Regions from separate parts of the Homo sapiens genome. Here region 2 is linked to region 1. The links are contacts of gene promoters, found by promoter capture Hi-C in human tissues and cell types (Jung and others, 2019). All regions are on one chromosome and are shown on one strand. The core of a region is centred on a gene start or on the middle of the fragment in contact, and the rest is flanking DNA. Distances in the headings are between cores, read along the strand shown. Region 1 holds the start of MRPL33 (mitochondrial ribosomal protein L33). Region 2 overlaps BABAM2 (BRISC and BRCA1 A complex member 2).

Evidence for each region. Contacts are between HindIII fragments. The study calls those that stand out against the background at their distance.
Region 2: a fragment that was not itself captured here is called in contact with the fragment with the promoter of MRPL33 in region 1 in 1 of the 25 tissues and cell types used here (aorta).

Annotation. Positions count from the first base shown.
Region 1 is chr2:27,768,781-27,773,237 of GRCh38, forward strand. It overlaps MRPL33 (mitochondrial ribosomal protein L33), which reads left to right and starts at 2,939. Exons shown (of 4, transcript NM_004891.4): 1 at 2,939-3,019; 2 at 3,894-3,912. The coding sequence starts at 2,998. RefSeq lists enhancers at 2,581-2,700, 2,934-3,750, 2,991-3,120. The HindIII fragment of the contact is 4,142 bases long and covers 236-4,377 here.
Region 2 is chr2:27,912,013-27,916,408 of GRCh38, forward strand. The region is part of intron 2 of BABAM2 (BRISC and BRCA1 A complex member 2); the gene reads left to right. Among named protein-coding and RNA genes, the nearest start is that of BABAM2-AS1, 23 kb to the left of the region's middle. The HindIII fragment of the contact is 8,075 bases long and covers 1-4,396 here.

The sequences.
Region 1 (4,457 bases), core at 1,689-4,188:
GTCTACCAACCCAATACAGATGCTGTGTATGGAGCCCTGACCCAGAGCAGATGTTCTCTTCCTCTATCTGCTTCTCCGGGCTGAGAATCTAGGTTAAACAGCTTGATCTTCTCCTCCCTGTAGCACCCCACCTCCCAAAGAGGGTGCCCCTTCTCTAAGGACTACACTTTTTCCATTTGGGCTGCCAGGATGCTCTAATTGTTATGCACTTTCCTCTAATAAGGCATAGAGGGCTCATTATGTAAATTCAAGGAAAAAAGCCCCAAATCATGAATTACATCTGTATTATAATAAACATTTTAATTAACACTTACCAACTGCCAGCTATATTAGGTATAAATAACAGGTGGATGCAACATGAACTCCTGAGGCTAGAGAGTCACTGCCTCCAGCCTACTCCTTCAAGAATTTCAAGAAATAGTTCATATGCTATCTCTTTTCTTCCTCTCCCCTCTCCCCTCTCCTCTCTTGACATGGAGACTCCCTCTGTTGCCCACGCTGGGGTGCAGTGCTGCTACCTTGGCTCAATGCAACCTCTGCCTCCCAGGTTCAAGCAATTCTCCTGCCTCTGCATCCTGAGTAGCTGGAATTACAGGCGCCCACATCTGGCTAATTTTTTTTTTTAAGTTATTTTTGAGACGGAGTCTTGCTCAGTCGCCCAGCCTGGAGTGCAGTGGTGCGATCTTGGCTCACTGCAGGCTACACCTCCCAGGTTCACGCCATTCTCCTGCCTCAGCCTCCCGAGTAGCTGGGACTACAGGCACCCGCCACCACACCCGGCTAATTTTTTTTTTTTTTTTTTTTTGTATTTTTAGTAGAGATGGGGTTTCACCATGTTAGCCAGGATGGTCTCAATTTCCTGACCTCGTGATTCACCTGCCTCGGCCTCCCAAAGTGCTGGGATTACAGGTGTGAGCCACCGCGCCCGGCCAGTTGTGTTATTTTTTAGTAGAGATGGGGTTTCGCCATGTTGGCCAGGCTGGTCTCAAACTCCTGACCTCAGGTGATCTACCCTCGTCGGCCTCCCAAAATACTGGGATTGCAGGAGTGACCCACTGCACCTGGCTCTTTTCAAAAGCAAGCTTATACATTCTCCTGGATCCTGAAACTATTGACAATACTTAAAGTTAGTTTTTTTTTTTTTGCTATTTAAACATAAATATTGACATTTGTATGGTGCCTCTCACCTCAGATTCATTCATTCAATAGATATTTAATAGATGTAGCAGGCATTGTTGTAGGAACCAGGGATACAGCAGTGAGGGAATAAGCTGAAGTTCTTTTTTTTAATTAAAAAAATTTTTTTAGAGACAGGGTTTTGCTGTTGCCCAGCATTCTGGTAGCCAAAGACAATAGGGAAATCAACAAGTACACAAGTAATACTATTAATGGCAATAAGTGCTGTAGGAAAACATAAAGAAGAGTAAGGAGAATAGAGTTGGGGGCAGGGGCATGGAGTTTAAGAACTGCTATTTGGCTGGGCTAAAGTTAAAGTGACTTTCTAAGGGACAGAACAAGGACTAGAAATCATGTTCCTTGGCTTCCAGTCTTGTGTTTTCTTATAAATCCTCTAAAGGAAATATAAGAAACCTTATCCTCTTGAACATCTGAAGCTCTTTTTTGCCAATGCAAGGTAAGGAAGGATTTCGGCACCTGGAAGGTACTCAGTAGCTGGAGTCCGGTTATGGGAAGATAAATATCAAGAATGATTAGAAGGAAAAAAAGTATTATAGGTACTAAGGAGAAGGACGGTCTTAATTTAAAAAATTGAATTGTATTGTATGGAGAGCTGATTTTTTTCCTCCTCATCTTCTTTGTGATGGCACAGAGAGCTGAATTTTCTTTAAAACAGTTTTATTACTTTTTTTTTTTTTTTTTTTTGAGACGGAGTCTCACTTTGTCGCCCAGGCTGGAGTGCAGTGGCGCTATCTCGGCTCACTGCAACCTCCGCCTCCCGGGTTCAGCTAATTTTTGTATTTTTAGTACAGGCGGGATTCCGCGACGTTGGCCAGGCTGGTCTCAAACTCGTGACCTCAAGTGATCTGCCTGCCTCAGCCTCCCAAAGGGCTGGGATTACAGGCGTGAGCCATGCGATTAAATCTTATTTCACATCTGTAAGACTTCATATGTAGATACAAATCACGGATTAGGAAAAAAATCCAAAAGTCCTGATTATTAGTTGCGAAATGAGGTTACTGACGAGGTCCTTGGTGTTAGAGGAGCCCAGGTTCCTTACAGAGCCATGAAAAATTAATGATTGCAAACTGGTAGGTCCCAATGTCTACTGGGAAAGGCATGAGTCTTTGGAGTCAGATAAAATCTAGGTTTAAATTCTTACTCTGCCACCTGGTAGTTCTGTGATATTAGGCACGTGATGTGAATGCTCTCAATCTGTTATTTGGCTTCTATGTCAGGAACTGTGCTAGGTGTTTGGATACAGAAGTTTGAGATGCAAAGGGTCCTGCCCTCCTAGAGATTGGGATAACTAAGGAAAGGTGGGGTTCTTAATGCCGAAGGGACTCAGAAGAGTGAGAGTAAGGCTTAACCAGGCGGAGAGGGAGTTGGGTCGGGGGAGGCAACATTTTAAGAAAATATGCGAGGGGCTGATACGCTGGAGCGGCCGAAGTACAATACACAGTTGTTCTTGTGGGTCTAATGCAGGTGGTTGCGATTATTTCGTGAAACAAATATGGAAAGCACCTAACGCTGAAAGCACTTGACCCAGAAATAGGAGTCAGGGCCGGGGCGCGAACCCTGAGCTGTAAATCCCTTTCCAGAATGATGAGGATTCCAACCTCCAGCACGACAAAAGCAAAACACACTCGCTCTGAGAAACCGAGGAACGAGCCAGACGACTGGAGGCAGGTTCCAGGCGGGGGGCGTGGCCTCGGGCGACTGCCGGATGTCCTCTTCCAGAACCGGGCCGTGCCCCGGAAGCAGTTGTTGTTGGTTGGGGGCCTTTTGGCCGGTGACGGAGACTGCCCAGGTGTGGTCACCATGTTCCTCTCCGCGGTCTTCTGTAAGTGGGGCTGGAGACGCCGGTAGGGGTTACGGCGAGGGTTAGGGGGCCGTGACAGGCAGGGCCCCGGAATGATGCGGGGAAGGATGTGCGAACAGGACGGGAAGCTGCAGCTGCGTACTTTTCCAGGCCTTCAGGACCACAGCGTCCGGCATGCCCCGCGGCGCGCCTCCCTGCGCGGACCTGTGGGTGCCTGAGAAGGGGTCTGCGGTGTCTGGATTCAATTGCCGTCCTCACGGACCGTTGAGTCTGGCTGTGGGGCGTTTTTCTCCAGCCCGTGTTAGGAGAATCTTTGTCCGAAGGACCTCAGAATTTGCAGCCCACCTATTTCGAACTCTAAAAATAAGGAAACCGCTCCCGAGAGGGGCAATGAATTGCCTGAGTAATGCGGCAGGGCAGTTAAAGAAGTCCTCGGGCTCCCGAGTCAGTGCTCTTCTTTACCCTTGGCTGACTTCCCAGTTAGATTTAGTATCTGGTTTTCACCACATGTGATGGTTGTTGTAATTTGCAAAGGTTAAACTTGTCAAACAAGAAGCTTGCTGCAGCGCGAATACTTGCACCTTAGAAGAGGGAAAAAATGGAGCAGGTATTACTTTAGAAAGATTTAAAAGGTAGCCAGTCCAACAGTCATGAAATTATGCAAAATATTAAATCTAGAATTGTGTTGGTCTGATTGGATCTTTTAACCTTCCTTCTATAAAATCCTAAGGGGATCCCTAATAGATAGGGAATAGTTACTTGAGTGACACCTCATGGCATATTTCATAAGTTAAATATTTTTGGTTATTACTGATATTTATATGAACTTTGCATAAGAAAGAGAATACATTTATATTTTTATTTTCTTTTCCAACCCTTCCTGTCTACAAAAAAGTTGCCAAGAGCAAGTCAAAGTAAGTAAAGATTTTTCCTTTTTTAAACGTCACTTGTTTATGTTGGATTTGTTAGTCTAGCTGCTCCCAGTACATCCTTATATGAAATTAAGCATTGGGCCTTGATTTCCTAAGAGTTGGTTTGTGGATTACTTAGTTGATTATTTTTTCTTTATGAACTCTTTCAAAAATATTTTCCCTCCTGCTGAACTGAGCTACTTCTGTGAGCATTGAAATACTTGAAGGAACCTTTGCTGCTTTTCTAGTCCCAGGATTTGTGAGCTCACTGTCTGTTTCTAAACAAACCATTGGGCTGTGCTGTATTTGGACTACCACCATATTTCCATTTCCTCAAATCGAGGACCAGGGGCCATGTGTCTGGAGCTCACTACGGGAATCCAGAAGAACAAACTCTGCTTTGATTAAATCATAGTCTGTTTTAATGAGTTTTGTAATCCTTTGCATTCATGGTATAAGCATTTCAAAAATAGCCAAGATTAAAGATTCCATGCTGTACCAGAGAGACTAGAACTACCAAACTTGTATTTCAAAATAAATGTTGTAGA
Region 2 (4,396 bases), core at 1,823-4,322, 140 kb after region 1:
TGTCACATTGTTTAACCATGCCTAATTCCAGAAACTGGCCTTAGGAGATACAAACATTGAACCAAGGTTGTGGAGTCTCAGTCTCCCACCTTGGGAAAGAATGCTGAACAATTACTAGGGTATGGAAAGGGAATACAATTTCATTGTTGGAACTGGGGCAGAAATTAAACACATATAGTTATTTTAAGTCTGTCACTGATTTGCTTTTTGACCTACATTCGCAGACTCCTTATTCTTTTTTTTTTTCCATTATTAAAGTTATTGAGGATTTGGAAGCTTGAATGACTTTGCAAATCTTAACTAAAACTAGTGATATAATTCTTGGCATTGTGGCATAATTTCTTACAGCACAGCACAATGTATTTAATTTTTAAAGAATAGTATTTATCATGTTTTTGCATCATAAAAGTATCTTTTGGAATTGTCATTGGCAGGTTTTTATAAATATGTTTATTATATCTATCTTTGTATGTATTTACTTAAGAAATTAAAAGAGTATGTAAGTCAGAAAAGGATTCTGAGAACCAATATAGTTCAAATGGAAGATTGGAATTATAGGTAGATTGGCAGGAATTCAGGACGCGAGAGACCATTACTTTAGATGATCTCTTTAGAAGGCCTGGGATTTAAAACTGAGCCATACTACCTTTAGAAGTTCCAAAGGATAGACTGCCACAGATTATGCCAGCAGTCATGTTGCAAGATTGGATGACCCCTTCAAACTGGCTTGTCAAATTTATTAATATCTTCTTGCAAGGAATGAATCCAAGAATATGTTGGAGCTACATCTGGATGGAAATGAAATAGTGTTACAGGTTCTGAGCAGTCAGACAGATAACCTGATGATAAATTTTGGGCAGTGAACTATATTGATGTTGCTGTCAACTTAGTAGAGATATCAAAAGAACACTTGGAAAGAAATAAATTAATGTTTGTTACTGTTGTGGGAAAACCAAGATGAATAGGGAGATTAGAAGACATCAAAGTAAAGCAGCTTATCTTCATATCCAAGGACCTTCAGCATCTAAAGATTCTTCAGAAAAGTGTTTTTCAAACTCTTTGATGGAAGAACAGATTAAAAAAAATGTAGCTGGTCACCAGCTGATACTTTTGTAAAATATAAAAATGAATTGCTAGAAGAGTGAAATGAAAAAGACATGAAATACAAGGCTTGACTCTTTTATTAGTAGATTCATCAGATTTATTCTTACACATTGCTGTAAAAGTTTTAAAATTCTTATCTCATTTTCTGTACTTTTCTTATTATGGATTAGTAATAATTTACAGACCAGAACTGGTCCATGGACCTGCTCTCTTTGAATAGCACGATTCTAGAAAGATTTCTGCATTCTAACAGTCCAGGAGTTGGCCTTCTTAAGAATTCTATCTCAGAGGGGCAACAGTAGTATGTTATTGATAAGTAATTCCTAACTACATGTTAGATAATTGGAGATACTGTTTTTTAAAACAAATATGGTAGATGGTTATACAAATAAAAACTATTCTGAAGATAACTCAAATTTTCAGTTAGTTGGATCAGTAAAAAATCAGAGGACATTGTTACTTTGTCCATGCTTTACATATATATACACACACCAAAGAATGGCTTTTGGGTAAGGAGAGAATTTACACGTATATTTTATACGTATAAAATGCACATAAAATCTACACACACCAAAGAATGGCTTTTGGGCAAGGAGAGAATGTTTATAATACAATCTTCTTTTGTAAACACTCTTATTTCTGTACATTTTAAAGATCACCTTTTTTTGATGTTTGCTTCTTAAAGCTGTAATGTAGTTATATTTTCTAAGTTGAACGTCTTAAACACTATGCCAGTGATTTGGGTAACACTTCAGTTTTTCTCTAATTGTAACTGATGAAGATTTTTAATGACTATGATAGGCACATTGCCAATTTTTGTTACATTCTCTTGTTACAAGAAAATATCATTTACCATTTCAACTTTGTTTCATGTGGTTCATGGTAGAATTCATTTCTTATTAAAAACTTAATAAAGAACTAGTGTTAGCTTTAGTAGTCATATTAAAGTATAACATTGTTTTAATCTACACCAGAATTATAGAATTTCAGGAATGGAAAGCATTACACTCTAATGTTAACCATATGATCTATGAACCCCTTCTAATGCTTCTCTGCCAAGTGACTGTTCAGGCTGTCTGTAAGTATCTCTAGTCATGTGGAAGCTCCATGAGTCCCAACACAGCTCCCTGGGCAGCTAATACTGTTACATAGTGCTTTTCTACATTGACCTGAAACCCTTTGCCTTGCCACTTCTAGCTCTTGTCACAATATAGAACAAGCTTAATTGATCCTGCATGTTAGTGAAGATAGCTATCATGTTTGATAGTTCTTTCTTCTGTAGGCTAACATGTAGCCTTTGCTGCTATCATGGATTTGTGTCCTTCCCTGTCTTTTTTGGCTTCTTCTGAATGTGATCCAGTTAGTCTCTATACTTCTTAAAGTGTAACACCTAGAACTGAATGAAGTGTTCAAGGAATAGTTTTGACCAAGTGTAGGGTTGAGTATTTTTATCTTCATTTTCCAGGAAGCTACCTTCTGTGAGATTGTACTGGACAGAGCTGTGGGTTACAAACCACTGATAGCTGTGACCTTTAGGTGTGTTATGAAATCATTTTAGAGGGCCTTGATTTACATAAAAAACAGAAGAGAATGGAACAAAAGTACACGTCATGTAATAAAGCTAAGTATCATTGCTTAACAATTTTGTTTTCAATTTATATATGAACACGTACACAGATATATGTACACATATGCATATATAATATTACTCTGTACAGATATCTCTACTGATGGTGATATAAAATGGTGATATAAAAATTTCTTATTATGTGTCAAAAAAGTTTGAAAGCCTCTGGCCTAGACTAGATGCTTCCTGTCCTTGTTTCTCTGATGGCTCTGTCTAGTCTCTGCTTGCTCTGCAGCCAATTTACATGCCCCATCTTGATATTCTTCTCTTTGTTTCCCTGTAAATTTCTGCTGTGTAACATGAGAGGCATGATGGGCTCCATTAGATTTGCTTTAGGACACTGGAAAATTATTTTACTGCTCTGATTAAGTCTTTTCATGGTTGGACCCCCATGAGAATTTTTGTCTGTGGAATGAAGAAATGAAGTAGCCCGGTGAAGAGGTGAGGAGGTCAATTGAGGTTTTTAGCTCAGAAAATTATTGCCCCAGTGAAGTAAAGGGTTTAAGGAAAATAGTGTTTGAGATAGACTCTCCTCCTCCTTATTTTTTGGTTTTGCAATTTGTACTTTTGAATACTCGTGACAGCAAGTGCTCTCTGTGTGCCAGGAACTGTTCTAAATACTTTATTTATGTGCACCAAGTCAGTGGATCCTCATAACAGCTCTCTGGAGCATGACTGTTATCCTTATTTTACAAATGAGAACACTGAAGACGAGAGAGATTATTTAACTTGCACAAGGCTTTAGAATTTATAGTGTATAACAGTAGCATCTCAAGCGCAATCTAAGAACGAAATCCTTTCAAACTACCTAACAACCAAAAATACGTGGATGGCACACTTATCCCATTACCCTGTAGTTCCAGATATGCTCATATAGCAGATGCTAAGTCTTTTCATAATCATTTAAATATAAGAATTTGAAGATATAAAAAACGTTTTTTTTCTATCTTTAGAAAGCACTTTTCAGTAACAGGAAAGGGAATCCTTTAATGACACTTCAGAATCTATTAATTCTTCCTTTTCCTTTCTTCCCCACTCTTCTTTATCTAATTCTCTATTTTTGGCTCTACCCTGTCATCAGTTTCCTACTACAATTCTCTCTCTCTACTTTTTCATTTTCTTTTTGTTTCTTCTCCCCATCTCCCTATCTCCCCATCTCCACTGGTTTTCCATCTATTCTTTCCTTTACTCTGCTTTTGTGCTTTCCATATTCATTCAAATTTATTTTTTTAGATAGGTTAAGCATGTACTGAGCACCAAGTAAGTGTGAGGCATTGTTGAGATACAAACATAAATAAAGCATGTAGCATGAGAGCTAATCAGGGTGAGATCAAAGCTCTGCTAGTACATTCCCTTGAGAATCAGAGCTATTGGAGCATGCCAAGGTAAATACTCCTTAGGCCTTCCCTATATGGATCAGGAATGTCTATGGGATTTAGATAAATAGTATGCAAATAATATAAAATATGAGCCCCAGAGTTCAGAGAATAGGCAGCATTTAGGACATGTTTTGGATCAAGGCATAAAAACAGTGGCCTAAAAAGTTTACAGGAATATTTTCATTGGAAAATTAGTAGTGTTTAGTATAAAAATTACTTCTTATAAAATAACACTGTACATTGAATGTATGAAAATGGTATTTAAGTTGGCCTTGGCCCTGGGGAT